Linked DNA regions of Homo sapiens: all the other regions are linked to region 4. The links are contacts of gene promoters, found by promoter capture Hi-C in blood cells and fetal thymus (Javierre and others, 2016). All regions are on one chromosome and are shown on one strand. Each heading gives the region's core, a stretch centred on a gene start or on the middle of the fragment in contact. The rest is flanking DNA. Distances are from core to core; before and after follow the strand shown.

Region 1 (4,368 bases), core at 992-3,491, 260 kb after region 4:
GTTTTAAATAAAAGTCTTTAAAATGTTAAATATCAGCCTTTCATTTCTGATATTTGGTCTTTGAAGAGGAAACATAATGCAATAGTAATTCATAATAGTGGAGGGTTCTTTCCTCACATCCTTGAAAGCCACCAGTCTTATTCTTCAGCCTGGCTCTTGAGCTATTGCTGTATTAATTTTAAATAGGGTGTGATAGCATAAGCTGATGGAAGCCTGCAGAGATCTCACTTTGAAATGGTGATACATTACATGGGAAAAGATTAGAGAGGTGTTTTATACTGCACATCGGTGAGGCCTAATAAGAAAGTAGAATAGACGTAAACCATTGTTTTCATCATCCTTTAAGACAGGGATTTCAAACTCAAGAACCAGGCAGCTACCTATTTAAATGAGTCAAGTGGGCCCTAATGTAAGACAATGTGATGGGTAAGGATTGATTCTGAGGGAACAGGAGCAGGCATGCCCTCTCTAACAGAGGCCGTCAGTTCTGCTGTACCTGAAATGTGGGCCCATTGTTGCTGGCGATTCCACACTTACATCTAAAATTTCCTGATTTTTTAAGAATGACAATAACTAATTTAAAAAAAAAAAAAAAACCTCAATGTAGGCCAAAAAATACGACTCTACAGGCCTCACGGCCTGTGCTTCACCAATATGTGACTTCTGCTTTTAAGGAATAGCTGGGGATACCTCAGCCTTAGGATAAATAATCATTTTTGGTAATTTAGAAAAATGAAGCAGTGTATTAGCTACTGTTCTCAAATATCCTTTTTTTCATTTAATTCCTAGTGTGGGACTACAATACTGGCAGAGTGGGAGCACCATTAGTTTGCTGTGAAATCAAATTAAAAAACTGGGAGGAAGGTAATAAACTATTTTAACCACAGAGCATTAATTTTTAAAGTATTAAACTTGAAAATTAGTGCTTCACTTTCTTGCTTTAGAATGTAAACACCCATAAGTGCTCATTTTTGTCCTTTGTGATAGACGTGTTTTATCTCGAACTATATGAATGCATTTATTTTTCTTGTTTCAAAGATGTTTCTGAAGAACTATTATTGTTTTCATTTTACTTATTACGTAGATGCAAGTAAGAATTATGGCAAAAACTTGAGAAATGTACTAATAAGTGAATAATGTCAATAAATTAGGAGTGATCATAACTTTATTTTGCAGAAGTAAAATTATAAAATTTATTTTATGAAATTGTGGATTTTTAAATGATTTTTTTCTTTTTTTTTCTGAGGGCTTCAACCTTGTATTATTAGAAGGAAATTTTCACTGCAATTCCATAGAAGTCTGTTTATTCTCATGCCATTTAAAATAATGGTCACTTAAAAATTTATTTGATCCTGTTAAAATATACAAATTATCTGTGTTTTATTGGGATGCACCTTTCCTCTACATTAAGTAAAGATAAAGATTCTGGCCGGGCGCAGTGGCTCACTCCTGTAATCCCAGCACTTTGGGAGGCCAAGACGGGCGGATCATGGGGTCAGGAGTTCGAGACCAGCCTGACCAACATGGTGAAACCGTCTCTACTAAAAATACAAAAATTAGCCAGGCGTGGTGGTGCGTGCCTGTAATTCCAGCTACTCGGGAGGCTGAGGCAGGAGAATCACTTGAACCCGGGAGGTGGAGGTTGCAGTGAGCCAAGATTGCGCCACTGCACTCTAGCCTGGGTGACAGAGCGAAACTCTCATCTCCAAAATAAATAAATAAAGAAAGATTCTAAGGCTTGGATGTCTTTTAGCTATCTTTAGCAGAATTAGTGGGAATATTTAATAAATTTAGGCTTGGAGTCATTTTGAAATTATCTATAAGAATAAATCTTAATATGTAGTAACTCACTTTTTTTTTTTTTTTTTTTTTGACACGGAGTTTTGCTCTTGTTGCCCAGGCTGGAGTGCAGTGTCAATGGTTTCGGCTCACTGCAACCTCCACCTCCTGGGTTCAAGTGATTCTCCTGCCTCAGCCTCCCTAATAGCTGGGATTTCAGGTGTGCGCCACCATGCCCGACTAATTTTTTGTATTTTTAGTAGAGGTGGGGTTTCACCATGTTGGCCAGGCTGACCTCAAACTCCTGACCTCAGGCGATCCACCCTCCTTGGCCTCCCAAAGTGTTGTGATTACAGACATGAGCCACTGGCCCAGCAGTAACTCATTCTTATATAGGGATTTGTTCTATTAATTGCATGACTTAATACTTCTGTCAGTTTATCAATATGATATTTAAGATGTTGCAGAATCTTTCAAATAATTTGTCTCTTGTATTTATAATTTTATACAACAAATGGAAGATGTTGGGTTTTAGAGTTTAATTTTTTTCTCAGAATAGAAGTTTGAAAACATAAATACTTATGGTTTAGCAACTGAGATTTTGTGCCTACTGTTAAATTGATAAACTTTGTTCATTCATAGTGTCTGCCTTTTTTCCTTTGGGAAGTTCTAATTGGATTAAAATAAGATGACTGTTTAGAAACTAGTAGTTTCAAATTTTCATGTGTTGTATTTAACTCAACTATTAACTCAATTATTATTTTATTAGGTGGATACTTTAATACTGATAAGCCACACCCCAGGGGTGAAATTCTTATTGGGGGCCAAAGTGTGACAATGGGGTACTACAAAAATGAAGCAAAAACAAAAGCTGATTTCTTTGAAGATGAAAATGGACAAAGGTGGCTCTGTACTGGGGATATTGGAGAGTTTGAACCCGATGGATGCTTAAAGATTATTGGTAAGTCATCTAATATTTTTTTGAAAATGAATGTTTCTGAAATAGTTTACACAAGAAGCACAATATATTTAGAGGAGGCGCTGAATAATATAAATCTTTATGTAATCTTAGTTTGGGTTGTTGCATCACTCCTGGAATATAAAATATTACGGACTGTGGAATTTATGAGGCCTGACATGTTATGAGTTCTCAAAGATGGTTCAGCAGCAGTGGTATTTTAAATTACTCTTAGATAACCTTCAGTCATTGTTTCCTGCCTGTGTTTCTGACATCTAGAGATTAGTGGATGGAGCTCTCACAGTCTGAACTGCACCCTTGCCTTGCCCTGCCCAGGAGAATAGAGGAAAGCCAGGCAGCTCAAGTACTATGACTCATATGGGTTGAAAAATACCTTATTCTGCTTCTCCTTTTAGGTTCTTTTTTTTTAAAAGTTAATGGCATTTCAGTTAGCCGTGTGTGGTGTCTTTGTCGGGCACCTGTAATCCCAGCTACTTGGGAGGCCGAGGCAGGAGAATGGCATGAACCCGGGAGGCAGAGCTTGCAGCAAGCGGAGATCGCGACACTGCACTCCAACCTGGGCAACAGAGCAAGACTCTGTCTAAAAAAAAAAAAAAAGTTAATGGCATTTCTATCCCTGTCTTGCTAACTAGAAACCTGGGAGGAGACTCAAGACTGTTCTCTTCAGTCAGCTTCCCATGCCTATTTTATATCCCACTAGTTTATTTTATGAGCTATGTCTCAAAATCATACTCTTCTCTCTTTGTCTCTCTTACTTGATCATTGGTCAGGCCTGTACCTTCTGCCACCCTCTCCCAATAATTTCTCTGTTGCCATGTTTACCCCCTTAAACACACCCTCTCACTGCCACCATGTAATTACTAAACATGGATCTTACTGGCCACAACCATTTAATGTCTCCTAGAAGCTCAGTTCAGGGTGCCCCTGTTAACATTGTTCCCCTCTTCACCTTCATCGTCAGTTGTTTTCCTCCTCCTCCTTGATGCAGCTGAAATTAGAGCTGATGTTCTTCTGGCTTTTGCCAGTGTTGTTGCACCTGACCTCTCACTTTTCCCTTAGGACTCGGCTCAAGCAGCTGAGCATAGTGACTCAGGCCTGTAATCCCAGCTACTCGGGAGGCTGAGGTGGGAGTATCACAGGAGCCCAGGAGGCCGTGATTGTGCCACTGCACTCCAGTATGAGCAACAGAGTGAGACCCTGTCTCAAAATCTCAAAACCAACCAACCATCCAACCCTCAGCTCAGGCCTCACTTGCAAGAATTTTTTCCAAATCCCCAGGTTGGAGAGTCTTAACACTTAGCGCTACCATTGTAGTACCAATGTATTGAAGTAATACGTTTTTGCATTATGCATGTCTCCAGATAGGTTGTGAACTTGCAGATGGCATTGAATATCTTCTTCACCTGCCTGGTACTAATGGATACCAGAAATAAACCTGTTCAGAAGAACATACTTGAAGCCCTGCTAATGGAGTCCATTAAGTAGAAGTTAATTGTTTTTCTTTCTTTCTTTTTTTGAGATGTAGTCTTGCTCTGTCGCCCAGGCTGGAGTGCAGTGGCACCATCTCAGCTCACTGCAACCTCTGTCTCCTGGGTTCACGCAATTCTCCT
Region 2 (4,529 bases), core at 310-2,809, 280 kb after region 4:
TGGATGTCTTGAGAGCATTGGGGCAAGAACTCCGAGAATTTTTTTTCTGTTTTCTTTTTTTTTTTTTTGAGACAGTGTCTCACTCTGTGGCCGAGACTGGAGTACAGTGGTACGATCTCAGCTCACTACAACCTCCATCTCCCGGTTCAAGTGATTCTCCTGCCTCAGCCTCCTGAGTAGCTGGGATTACAGGCACCTGCCACCACACCCAGCTAATGTTATATTTTTAGTAGAGACGGGATTTCACCATGTTAGCTAGGCTGTTCTCGAACTCCGGACCTCAGGTGATCCACCCGCCTTGGCCTCCCAAAGTGCTGGGATTACAGGCGTGAGCCACCGCTCCCGGCCTTAGAATTCTTTTAAACGTTTCCACAAATGTAAGAAAAGATGGCTTTTTGGTAGCCATGGTCAAAAATAGCCACCCAAATCTGTTTTTACCCTGTTCAGCACATCAGCAGTTCACCTCATGTAGGAAAGTGAGATGCACCAGAGGCTTAAAAAAGTTCCTATGGTTTGCCCACTAATTCCACATCTAGGAATCTGACCTTAGAAAATACTCAAGAGACGCGGGTTGAGATTTCTTCAGGAAGACCTTCATTGTGAAGTTGTTTATAGCAATCCATCAATTGGAAACAAGTGCACTAAAGTAAGATATCAGGTAAATATTAGACACTATCCACTTGATCATAGAGGCACAAAAAATGTTTATACAGCTTTTTATATTGTGAGGAGGACTTCATACTATGAATTTTATGGGGGAAGAAAGTAGGAATCAAAATTTAGTAGGCACTTTATGTCATAATGTGTGTGTGTGTGTGTTGTGTATATATTTCATAGAGAAAAGTCTAGAAAGAAATGTGCAATCATTGGCCAAAAATTGTAATTGACATTTTTCTCTTCATACTTTCAAAATTCTTTACATTGGCTTTACTTACTCCTACAATAAAAAGTCAAGCTTGTGTAAAGAAGCCTAGCTTAAAATATGGACCATAAGCTTTAAAATTTTTTATCTTAGCAAAATTATCAATTGTTAAGAAAAAATATTTGAAGCTATCTTAAGTGTTCTAGTAAAGAAGAAACTAGAAACCCTTTTATTTTCTAATCCCATTCATATTTATATATTTTTTGAAAGCTCCCTTCAACTATACCCTTGTTTATCAATCTTGTTCTGTTTGTTCCAGCTTTATAACGTGATATATGGGTATCTGTGCCTGTCTTCTGTATGTGCATTTTTTTTCTGGTAATTCTGCCCATGTTCTGCATATCTTTATTTTCATGTTCTTAATCCTTTTATTTACTGCTTCATGACTCAATTTTAATTTTTCTGTAACTGAATTATGTAGGACCTTGGCCCCTAAATAGCTCTTTTCAAGAAGATTTTCTTCTTGTGTGTCCAATAGATTTGCTATGCCCTTTCTCCTCCTCCTGTTAAATGTAAAACTTTATTAGTATCAATATCTGATATAGTTTGGTTGTGTCCCCACCCAAATCTCATCTTGAATTGTATCTCCTACAATTCCCACATGTTGCGGGAGGGACCTGGTGGGAGATCATTGAATCATGGGGGCAGTTCCCCCATACTGTTATCGTGATAGTGAATAAGTCTCACGAGATCTGATGATTTATAAGGGGTTTCCCCTTTCACTTGGCTCTCATTCTCTCTTGCCTCCCACCATATAAGATGTGCCTTTTGCCTTCCACCATGATTGTGAGGCCTCCCTAGCCATGTGGAACTGAGAGTCCATGAAACTTACTTTTCTTTGTAAATTACCCAGTCTCCAGTATGTCTTTATCAGCAGCGTGAAAATGGACTAATACAATATCATATTGTATATTTTTCTGTAGATCATCCATTTTAAAAAGAGGAGATGATTTGCTAATTTTTAAAAACAGCTCCTATAAGAAAAGGGAAATTCAGAAAGATGCTTTTCTTCTATCTTTTCCCTGAAAGTTGCCCAGTTCTTCTTTGCCTTTTGGTTGTTTTATTGGCTGATTCTAGCTCTGGGTCTGGTGTCAGTGTTGACCTGTGATCCCTCATCAGGGCCAGTGCTGAGACCTGTGGATGATTGCACCAGACGTCCTTTACAGACCAGGCTTGAGTCTCCCTGCTATTGTGATTTTTTTTTAAGCTTATTTGGAATGTTAGACAAACAGGTGTAAAAATACCATATTAGTTTTTGAAAGATTTGCTTATTTAGCATAACATGAATTTATGCTCATTATAAAATTTCTAGTAATTTGGAGATATAGACTAAAAATGGAAATCCTCCCTATATACACAGGGTTTTTAGAAAACATATAATGAATTAAATTTTGTCTCTCCTCCCAAATGTATATGTTGAAGTCCTGATCTCTAGTACCTCAGAATGTCAGTAAATTTGGAGATAGGGCCTTGAATAAGGTGATTAAGTTAATATGAGGTCATTAATGTGGCCCCTAATCCAATATGACTAGAGTCCTTGCACAAGGAGATCAGGACACAGATCTCCACAGAGTGAAGAGTGTGGGATGCCAACCCAAAAAGAGAGGTCTCAAAAGATACCAGCCCTGCTGACACCTTGATCTTGTCCTTCTAGCCAACAGAATTGTGAGAAAGTGAATTTCTGTTGCTCAAACCACCTAGTCTGTGATTTTGTTATGGCAGCCCTAGCACACTAATACAGACCGCAGTTAGATCCTGGTCTAGATTCTATAACTTGCCTTTTTTATTGTGAGCATACATTGGACATCTTCCTGTGTCAGTACATATATAATGGACCTGATTCATAAATAACCTTGTTAACGGCGAGGCAATATTCCACAGAATGGGTGTATCACAATGTAAACCATTCTCTCATTGTTAGGCACTTAGGTTATTTCAGTTTTTACCATTAGAATCAGTGTGACAACACAAAGCTTTTACTCCCATTTTTGTGCTTAAGAGGAAGCTCATCTACAGGACAGCTTTCTAACAGGAATGGCTAGGTAGATCAAACCTTAGCAGTTTTGTAAACTATCCAATTGTTATTTGGTTTTGAGTGTGTGTGTGTGTGTGTGTGTATGTACATATATATCTCCTGACTTCTCAGATAAATTTAAATTCCTGAGGAATGGGTGTTTTAGTGATTCTTTGTATCCTCCAAGTCTAGTGTCATATGACTTTCTTCTAAGAGATTCTGAGTGAATGTTGGGTATACTATCATTTTCATTAATTAGCCTTTTATCATCAATTAGCTAAAATGTGGGAAAGAAGGGGAAACATGGTGTGTAGTGTGACCCAGGCAGGTCCCGTCCCTCTGAGCCTTTGTAGACACTGTGTTAGTTTTCTTTTCTCCCTTTTTTTGCTTTTTGAAATAAGGTCTTGCTTTGTCACCCAGGCTGGAATGCAGTGGTGTGATCATGGCTCAAGCAATCCTCCTGCCTCAGTGTCCCAAGTAGCTGCGACTACAGGAGCGAACTGCCACATCTGGCTTATTTATTAATTAACTAATTAATTAATTTAATTATTTGTAGAGAAAGGGACTCACTATGCTGCCCAGGCTGGTTTCAAACTCCTGGCCTCAAGTGATCTTCCCGCCTCCACCTCCTAAAGTGCTTGGATTACAGGCGTGAGCCACCGCACCCGGCCCTGTGTTAGGTTTTTTTTTGTCATGGGTCTCTTTTTTCCACCTCCTTCCTTCCTCCTTTCCCTCCCTGCTAATAAACAATAATTTCATATGCCTTCTGAGTCATTTGAGAAATTGTTTTGTTCTACCTTCCGGGAATATGCTAATAATGAGTAAAATAAAAATGGGCAGGAATTTGATGTAAAATCCGAAGGCAGATTTGTGTTTGTATATCTCATCTTCTCTCCTCTGCGGCATTTACAGGAAGCAGCAGGGCTGCGTGGGTGATGGATGTTGCTGTCTGTGACCGTCTGCCGCCCATTCCTCTTCTTTGAATCACCAGCCTATGGGCTGTTCACCATGCAGCTGATGTTCACCAGCTCTGTATCTTCCATCTCCCCAAAGTGGCACGGACACAGAGCCTTGCTTATACACAGTGATGGGAATCTGGTGCAGTAGAAAACAAAATTTTCTTATTTTTCTCCCACCCCAAACCCTGGCAATACTGTTTTCACAGGTAGAGATGGTGAAGAACGCAGACTCATAGCAAGACACCCATGATCACCAGTCACCTGTGTGTCTGTGATGTCGAGGCTGACAATTAGATATGATTACAGATATGTGAAAAAAGGACAGTTTTTTTTATTGTAGTACTGGTAACAAGAATTGCTTTTTGAATTTTTTAATTGGGATCTCCTGTTTTTCCCCCCTCCAAGTCCTTCCTGCTTTTTCTTTGCTTTTAAGGATACAGAAAGATGATCACTTTTATTGGAAAAACCTGTTGAGAAGCTATGCTTGCGAGACATTAGCAATCCTCATGCTTGTGAGTTCCGGAACATTATACAGGCTGGGCATGGTGGCTCATACCTGTCATCCCAGTACTTCGGGATGCTATGGCAGGAGGATCTCTTCAGCCTAGGAGTTCAAGACCAGCCTGGGCAGCAT
Region 3 (4,399 bases), core at 315-2,814, 300 kb after region 4:
AGATTTATGAGTGAGGGACTTAGAGCCTGGGGTCATCATAGGTGTGAATTCTACTCTAGAATCAACCACTGTGTGACATGAATGCATTGCCTCTCTCTCCTAGGCTGAGTGTCCTGAGCTATACATGAGAGCTGTGAGATGGTTGTGAGGATTCCACTGGGTGCAGCATTAAAGGGGCTCGGAACAATGTCTGAAGATGCCAATGCTAGAGAAATGGTGGTTGAATCTGAATCTAGGCAGCTTCTGTAGGCATAACTCAGGCTCTTTCTGGTCTGAATTCTTTGCTTGCTGGGCTTTGTATCTTGAGACCTCTCTTTCTTCCCACTGGTCAGAATCCTGAACATCCTTCAAGGCTGGGCTGAAAACTTCCCTCCTCTGTGCCGACTTTTCTGACTACCTGAATCCTCAGTGATCAGTCCCACCTCTCAATTCTTACTGTCTTCTGTTATGTCTTTGATAATTTCTTCCTCTCTCTCTGTCTCTTCTGGTTTCTCTTTTTTTGTATTAGTTCTATTAGTCAGACACTGGATCCACAGATTGGTCTTCTAGGTCTCCTATTTTTTTCTATTACCTTTTTTATCTCTTATTTTGAGATCTGTTTTTTGGGAAGTCATCTGGATTTTATTCTCCAACCTTGTAATGAATTTTCCTATTTTTGCAGTCATTAAAAAATTTCCAATAGCTCTTTTTTTTGGTATCTGATTTTTCCTCTTGATATAGCATCTTATTTTTGTTTCATGGGTCTAATTTCTAATTAGAGGATTTTATTTTGTGTTCTATAGCTTAACTTATCTTTGTTTTGGTTGGAGTCATTTAAAAAACTTGTCTCTATTCTGAAATAACTGCACAGTCTTCATCCTCGTTCATTTAAGTCGAAGTGCGAGGCAATGAAAAATCGTGCATGTGAACAAGATCTGTCAGGTAGATGGATTTGCGTCTGGGAGATTGAGGACATCCTAAGTGCCAGAATGCAGAGATGTTTCCAGTGGGGCTATCAATTTGTTTCAAGGAGGACCCTTTGATGCTTAGACTGGGGAGTAAGGTGGGGTAGGCCAGGGAGATGTCTGGTTTCTAGTGTGCTGAGAGAGTGCAGTGGGACAGGGCAGCCCATGTCCACACCTTCATTTCACTGCCTTCATTATTCTGTTTCTGAGTGCTGAAACCTATCAGAGTCTGGCAAGGTAGATGGGCGTATCGCCTCCCATAAGGACTCTAGGCCATGGTTCCTCTGATCTACTTCATCTGTTTTCATCCATCTTCTAGTCATTTGTTGAATTTCTATTCAGTGACAGCCCTTCTTTTACTTTCTTTATCGTTGTGCATTAAATCCTTTTAAATTGTCTTGCTGTCATTTTAAAGAGAACCCAGCTGAAGATGGAGTTAAACAGCCTTCCATTTAGAGCTGGAATTCCCCTGTTCTATCCTATTTAATGAGCCATTCAAATCAAGATAGTTTTCTGTTGATGGGACTGGCTTTTCAAAAAGGCACAACTAGATTATAATCCAGAATGGGGAGGAAATAATGCCTTATTTTTTGTTTTGTGGAGGCTAGCCCAGTATCTTTTATTTGGTAGGTGCTCAATTAATGTCTATCAATTGAGTTTGCTTTAACATTTAAGCTCTACCATTTTTTTTGTTTCACATTTTTGTCTGCTCTCACAAATGTGATTTCTCTTAGAACAGACTCAAACATCTGGAGAGCCATTTGTATCTCCATTTTTATGGCCTTTTATATTTTCAGTCTTGACTATGCACTTCTACAGGATTTGAAAGAAATGAGAAAATACAGTAAGCACCCTATGTGGAGAGATTCATATTCCATAACTTGTCTTCAAAGTTATAGTCCTCTTGACTCACTTTACTTGCATGTAAAAACATAACTTGGGCATTTTATTATCCCTTATTGCTTGCTTCTCATTTTGTTGCTGTTCAATAGGGAAAGTAGGTTGTTTCCTATTGTAATTTCCAGAGTTCTTTGAGTTAAGGGGTGATTTTTCCTCCCTTCCCCATGGCTGTGAACACGTGGATGTGCACACTTGCACGTGTCCCTTACCCCCGTGCATATCTCAGTATACTCTGGACATTTTTCTCTTCAAAAGAAAACCAAGTTTCTGATTTCAGGTCATCCAAATAGATACCATCAGGCAGAGCAGCGTGACATGGTTCTTAAGTCCCATAGGTCACGTTTTTGGTAAATAGCTGTGTCCTGTAACTGTCATTCCCGTCATGTCTAGCTTACTCACCAGTGAATGCATGACATTTTCTTGGCCTTGGAATGTTCCATCTCAATTAAAACTAGAGGGAAAAAAAGCCATTCTTCATACTGTAAATATGAGAAGAGTACATCATGGAGACTTTTCTCATCAAACTGTAGAGGAAGAGCCTGCCCTGCTGGGGCCTCTTGGGAGACATACCTGGTTCAGGATGGAACCAGCTCAGGAGGACTGGAAGAGTCCTTTTAGTTTGTATTGTGTATTGAGAAAATTTATCGTAACATCTTTTCCTTTTGTACTGCCGTAGTCAATAAAACTATATAATTAATTAATTCACACCTATTCAACACATGTTTTGCACAGAGTAAAATTTAGCAAAATACGCAATACAATAAACATAGAATTAGACAACATAATAGAAGGGATATATATATATATTCCTTCTACAAATATAAATTGTAATATATATTTAAATTGTTATATATATATATATATATATATATATATATATATATATATATATTTAGGGCTAAGAAAGACATGACTTTGAATAGTAACCCAGTACCATTTTCTATCTATCTATCTATCTATCTATCTATCTATCATCTATTTATCATCTATTCTATCATAGTGATAAATATACATAACATAAAGTTTACCATTTTAACCTTTTTTTGAGTGTACAATTTAGTGGCAGTAAATACATTCTCAATGTTATGCAATCATTGCCACTATCCGTTTCAAGAACTTTGGCATCACCCCAAACTGAAACTCCACACCCGTTAAACACTAACTCACCATTCCTCCCTCCCCACAGCTCCTAGTAGCCTCTATTCTACTTCTCTTCTCCATTAATTTGCCTATTCTAGGTACCTCAGTGGAATAATGCAATATTTGTCCTTTTGTGTTTGGCTTATTTCGTTTAGCATACACACTTTGAAGGTTTATTCATGTTGTAGCTTACATCAGAATTTCATTCCTTTTTAAGGCCTAAAAATAATACATTTTCTGGGTGCTGTGGCTCATACCTATATTCCCAGTACTCTGGGAGGCCGAGGCAGGAGGATCACTTGAGCCCAAGAGTTTGAGATCAGCCTGGCAACATAGAGAGATCCCATCTCTACAAAAAAGTTTTGAAAATTAGCCAGGCATAGTGGTGTGTTCCTGTGGTCCCAGTTATTCGGGAGGCTGAGGCAGGAGGATCACTAGAGCCCGGGAAGTTGATGCTGCAGTGAGCCATGATTGTACCATTGCAGTCCCACCTGGGTGACAGAGCAAGACCCTGTCTCGAAAACAAGACAAAACAAAACAAAACATTGTATGTTTATCCCACATTTTGTATATTCATTAATCTGTCCATTGGTATTTGGGTTATTTCTACCTCTGGGTTATTGTGAATATGATGTTATGAACATTAGTGTACTAATATCTGTTGGAGTTTGTGCTTTCACTCTTAAGTATATATTCAGAAGTGAAATTACTGGATCGTATGGTAGTTTTATGTTTAACTTTTTGAGGAAACACCCAACTGTTTTTCACAGCATCAGCACACCATTTTACAGATCAGGAAAATGAGGTTCAGAGAGGTTAAACTACTAGCTCAGGATCGCATAGCTGGCCTCTAATGAGGATTATTAAATTTAGGTTTGTAAACAGCCTTCCATTTAGAGCTGGAATTCCCCTGTTCTATCCTATTTAATGAGCCATTCAAATCAAGATAGCTTTCTGTTGATGAGACTGGCTTTTCAAAAAGGCACAACTAGATTATAATCCAGAATGGGGAGGAAATAATGCTTTATTTTTTGTTTTGTGGCTGGATAGTGCATTCCATAAATGGGCTTTCAATCAATCTTTACTCTCTTCCCTTCCCTTTCTGATGCTAATTCATACATACTGGTCTAAAGTTTAAATTTACTTATGAGTCCACACTCTTTCTTCCATTTTCTTAACATATTACAAAAGCAAACAATCTCTTTGATCTTGGCTAAAATGATTCTAGAACTTTCTCACACCTCAGAAGTGCATGCTTCTTTCAAACAAACCATGTGCTGGTTACAAATCATGGCTCTTTGTCCACCGTCTTTCCCCAGGCAAGCTTGGGTGGCTGTAGTTAATATAGTTCGAGGGTCTTGAGGTAGTGGAATTGCTGTACGAACCCTTGGAGTGTAGAATTTTCACAATGAAGA
Region 4 (4,362 bases), core at 1,270-3,769:
ATATCTCAAGTCTATATTTTCCCAAGCTTCCACATCCTCTACAATCATCCTACAATAGCCTTCTTAGGGGATATGCCTACTTCCACTCTTGCTACCTCCAATCTGTTCTAAATAGGTGCCCATTATTCTGTATCAGCCTATGTGTTTCCTTCAGGGCACTGTCACACATTTGGTTGTCTACATAGGTAGGTATTTTCTGTTTCTCCCACTAGACTGTGAGCTGCAGCAGGACAAAGACTTTTCTTATTCACCATTGTAACTCATCTCCTTTCCCTACCCAGTGCCTAATACATAGAAAGCTTTCCACAAATAGTCAATAAGTAAATGTGTGTAAATTCTCAAAGGCACAGAGACCTCATCTTAATTCACGTTTGTGTCATCAGTACCAAGGACAATGCCCAAGGCAATGCAGGCACTCCATAAATGTTTGTTCTATGTTTGGTTCAGTTGATGAAGGGATGACTCGCCTCTCCAGGTTTTATAGAAATTTGAATCTTCTCTATTCTGCCATTTACCAGCTGTGTGACTTTAAGCCCTAATTTCCTCAGCTGCAAAGTTGAAGTGAATGCGTACTTTGTAGGGTTTTTGAGATTACGCCTGTGAGGTCTCTGCAGAGTGCCTGACATAGGGTGTGTTCGTAGTGTCCCCACCTAGCACTGGGGGAAGATTCAAGGAAGAAATCTAAAAGGAAAGAAGAAAGTGACTCCTTAAGTAGGAGGAAAAAGAAACCCAAACAAGTTTTGCATACAAAAAATCACAAACAACTCCTCCAAGTGGCCCTGGTATTTGTTTTAATCCAACTCCCTTTGTATTAAAATGTTGAAGGAGAAAAGGGCATAGGATGGGGGAGAAAGGAGGGCCAACTATATTGTTTTGCCCTGTTCCAAGTCCTCTTCAGCAATGACTTGACAGCTGCTCATCATTTTGAGTTTTTCAACTATGTGGTAATTAATATTTATAAATAAAGTGCAGTGGTTGCTCCCAAGGACTAGGCACTATTTAGAATCTAGCCATCCATTTAGCACATCGTAATTGAAACCCTTCAGTGTCTTGTACTGCTCTTGGGGTTCAAACTTGAACCCTAACTCAGTCTGCAAGGGTCTGGACCTTGCCCACCATTTTTGCCTGATGTCACCCCAATCTCACCCTTGTCCCCCAAGCTCTCACTCTTTGAGCTCTTCTTGGAGTTCAGCCACAGGACCTTTGCATATGTGCTTCCCTTTGCCCGGATGACTCCTGGGTTAACTAGATTTGGCTACAGCTCAAGTAAGGGCACTTCTTCAGACACTTCCCTGACCGTGCAGCAGTCTTGGTTTTGGAATCTTCTAGTCATTCACAGTAGGGTCTTACTTGTAATTATACACCAAATTGTGTAGTTGTTTTGCTTATGTCTGTTTCCCCCTGTACTCTGAGAACAAGACAATGAATAGCTTGTGTCAGGCCTCTGAGCCAAAGCTCAGCCATTATAACCTCTGTGACCTGCATGTACACATCCAGGTGGCCTGCAGGAGCCAAGAAGCCTGGAGCAGCCAAAAAAAACGCAAAGAAGTAAAACAGCCAGTTCCTGCCTTAACTGATTAACCAACATTACAACATTTTACCATTGTGACTTGTCCCTGCCCTACCTTAGCCGATCAATCGACTTTGTGACATTCTTCTTCTGGACAATGAGTCTTATGATCTCCCCACCCTGTACCTTGTGACCCCTTCCTCTGCTAACAATAGATAACCACCTTCTACTGTAATTTTCCATTACCTAGACAACTCCTATAAAGCAACCCCTTCCCCATCTCCCTTCGCTGACTCTTTTTCGGACTCAGCTGACTTGCACCTAAGTGAATAAACAGCCTTGTTGCTCACACAATGCCTGTTGGTGGTCTCTTCACACGGATGCGCTTGACAGCTTGGTTATCCAAGCGCCCGGATGGTGCTCAGCAAGTGGCAAGTGCTCAATAAATGTGGGTTGAATGAATGAATGGGTGAAAGATTCCCGGAGCTCCTGTAGGGAACTGAGGACCCAAGAGTGAGGAAGCCAGGTCCCCTTCCCCATCCGCGGGGAAATTGGAGGTTGCGGGGGGACACAGATCAATAAACTAAGAAACAAGTCTCGCTCATCTCTCCAGCTGGTGTGCGATTCCTCAAACTAACCCTTCCCCAATCACCGAGGGTTCGAATGAAGGGGTGGGATGCTGAAGGCAAGCGCTGGGTGATCGATCAGCTGAACAATGGTCAGATCCTGGTGGAGATCCCAGGTCCTCAGCCAGGCGGCAGGAGCCCGCGCTGCCCGGCTCGGGCTGGCTGCCAGTTGACCCCTCTCCCCGTCCCTCGTGTCCCACGCGGCGCACTCTCGCCAACGCCCGGCGCGCCAGCCAATGCGCCCGGGCCGCTGTAGCTGCTCCGGGGCCAGGGCGCTGGGCCAGCTCTGGCGCCCGGCGCTTGTGATTGGCTGCCCCCAGCCTCAGCCCAGCGCGCCCTCCCACCCAGGGCGCAGTTGGGTCCCCGCTCGCTGCCTAGCCTCTGCCTTTTCCTCTCCGCCCAGCCAGTGCCCAGCGCGGGGCCCGGATCCGGCCGGGCACTTCCCACAGGCGCCGCAGAGCAGCGTGGGTGCAGGCTGCAGTGGCTGGCGCCGTCCTCGCCCGGCCAGGCCATGAAGGTAGAGTTTGCACCGCTCAACATCCAGCTGGCGCGGCGGCTGCAGACGGTGGCCGTGCTGCAGTGGGTCCTGAAATACCTGCTGCTCGGTAAGGACCCCGCCCCCCGGGCCGCGGGGCTTGGGCTCCATATCCTCCCTCGGGACGGTCCGGATTCCAGGACCTGCATAGAACCTTCCAACCCTCGTTCCCCTGTCGGCCAGAGCAGGCAGGTCAAAGAGGGCATTTGGAGCTAACGTGGACTCTGGTTTCCTCACGAGAACCTCATCGCTAACGACTGTTTAATTTTATTTTCTCCTGCGTTACTTTTTTAAATTGAGGTGCACCTTGCCTACAATAAAAGGCGCAGTTATACGGATACAGCTCGATGACTTTTGGCGACTGTATCTACCAAAATGTAACCATGACCCCATCGAACGCATGAGCACTTTAACCCCTCAAAAGTTGGCAAACTCGTTTCTCGAACTGTTGATTCATAGATGGCAAAGTAATGCCTCAGTAGTTAAAACCTTGTTCCTTCTCCCTCTTTGTCTCCCCACCCTCCTGACAAAGAGCAGTGTTCCCTTTCCCGTTTTGGAGATTTCCTGGATGCATAGCAGTACCTTTCTGTAAAGAAGGCTGCACCACTCATTGCATTTGGTTGAGCGGTTTCTCTCTGGAAATAGTTTGACTCAGTAGCGTGTGTGTTCCAGTTGGTTCCCAAGTTGAGCCCATGAAACATACACGAGCCGAATCATTAGATGGGGCAAAAACGTGGGTGGTTTTTCTTTTTGTTTTTTGTTTTTTCCTTCATATTTGTTCTGCTCTTGAAGTAAATAGGGGTGATGTGGGAGGAGGGAGGAATTTGGGGGAGACCCTTCTATTGAAACATAAACTCTTCTGAAGACTAAGATCATGTGTATGCTGTAAGATCATGGATTGTACAGCGTTGGGGTGGTAATAATAGTAATAAGCCCATTGCATTGGAGAGTTTTACACTTTTAAAACTGCTTTTACATTTCGAAAGCCTGAATCAGTGGTTCTCAACCCTGGCTCTAGATGAGAATCACTGGAGAAGCTTCTAAAAAGTGCAGATGCCCAGGCTCCATCCTGGAATTTGTTTATTATTATTATTATTATTATTATTATTATTATTATCTTTGAGACGGAGTTTCACTCTTGTTGCCCACGCTGGAGTGCAGTGGCGCCATCTCGGCTCACCACAACCTCCGCCTCCCGGGTTCAAGTAATTCTTCTGCCTCAGCCTGCCGAGTAGCTGGGGTTACAGGCATGTGCCACCACATCTGGCTAATTTTGTCTTTTTAGTAGAGACGGGGTTTCTCCATGTTGGTCAGGGTGGTCTCGAACTCCCAATCTCAGGTGATCCGCCTGTCTCAGCCTCCCAAAGTGCTGGGATTACAGGCGTGAGCCACCGCGCCCGGCTCATCCCTGGAATTTCTAAGTCATTTGTTTCAGAATGAAGTCTGTACACCTTTTTTTTTTTCCTTTTTCCTCTTAAGAACTCTCCGAGTGACTCTCCTGTGCTGCTAGGTAGAATTTACCAAAAAAAAAAAAAAATGTAATTCAAAGTGTTAACTCATTAAGTCCTCACAGACTACACCGTGAGGCAGGGTTGCTCTGGATCAAAGCACCATGGAGATAACAACACACGACCTTATCTAGCGCTTGGTATGTGCCAGGTGCTGTTCTAAGCAACATCCACGATTAACTA

What was found. Contacts are between HindIII fragments. The CHiCAGO score rates a contact against its expected background, and 5 or more counts as called.
Region 1: a fragment that was not itself captured here is called in contact with the fragment with the promoter of MOGAT1 in region 4 in 4 of 17 cell types (fetal thymus, M0 macrophages, neutrophils and 1 more); the score reaches 6.6 in fetal thymus.
Region 2: a fragment that was not itself captured here is called in contact with the fragment with the promoter of MOGAT1 in region 4 in 6 of 17 cell types (M0 macrophages, neutrophils, M1 macrophages and 3 more); the score reaches 8.8 in M0 macrophages.
Region 3: a contact is called between a fragment that was not itself captured here and the fragment with the promoter of MOGAT1 in region 4, in 1 of 17 cell types (monocytes). The highest score is 5.1, in monocytes.

Annotation. Positions count from the first base shown.
Region 1 is chr2:222,928,073-222,932,440 of GRCh38, forward strand. It overlaps ACSL3 (acyl-CoA synthetase long chain family member 3), which reads left to right. Exons shown (of 17, transcript NM_004457.5): 13 at 790-864; 14 at 2,549-2,740. Among named protein-coding and RNA genes, the nearest start is that of ACSL3-AS1, 11 kb to the left of the region's middle. The HindIII fragment of the contact is 6,550 bases long and covers 1-4,368 here.
Region 2 is chr2:222,947,231-222,951,759 of GRCh38, forward strand. No RefSeq gene overlaps it. Among named protein-coding and RNA genes, the nearest start is that of ACSL3-AS1, 30 kb to the left of the region's middle. The HindIII fragment of the contact is 1,135 bases long and covers 993-2,127 here.
Region 3 is chr2:222,966,723-222,971,121 of GRCh38, forward strand. No RefSeq gene overlaps it. Among named protein-coding and RNA genes, the nearest start is that of ACSL3-AS1, 49 kb to the left of the region's middle. The HindIII fragment of the contact is 5,483 bases long and covers 1-4,306 here.
Region 4 is chr2:222,669,139-222,673,500 of GRCh38, forward strand. MOGAT1 (monoacylglycerol O-acyltransferase 1) reads left to right here and starts at 2,520. Exons shown (of 6, transcript NM_058165.3): 1 at 2,520-2,741. The coding sequence starts at 2,648. LOC124907985 (a long non-coding RNA gene) reads left to right here. Exons shown (of 2, transcript XR_007088095.1): 2 at 1,498-1,864. The HindIII fragment of the contact is 3,409 bases long and covers 298-3,706 here.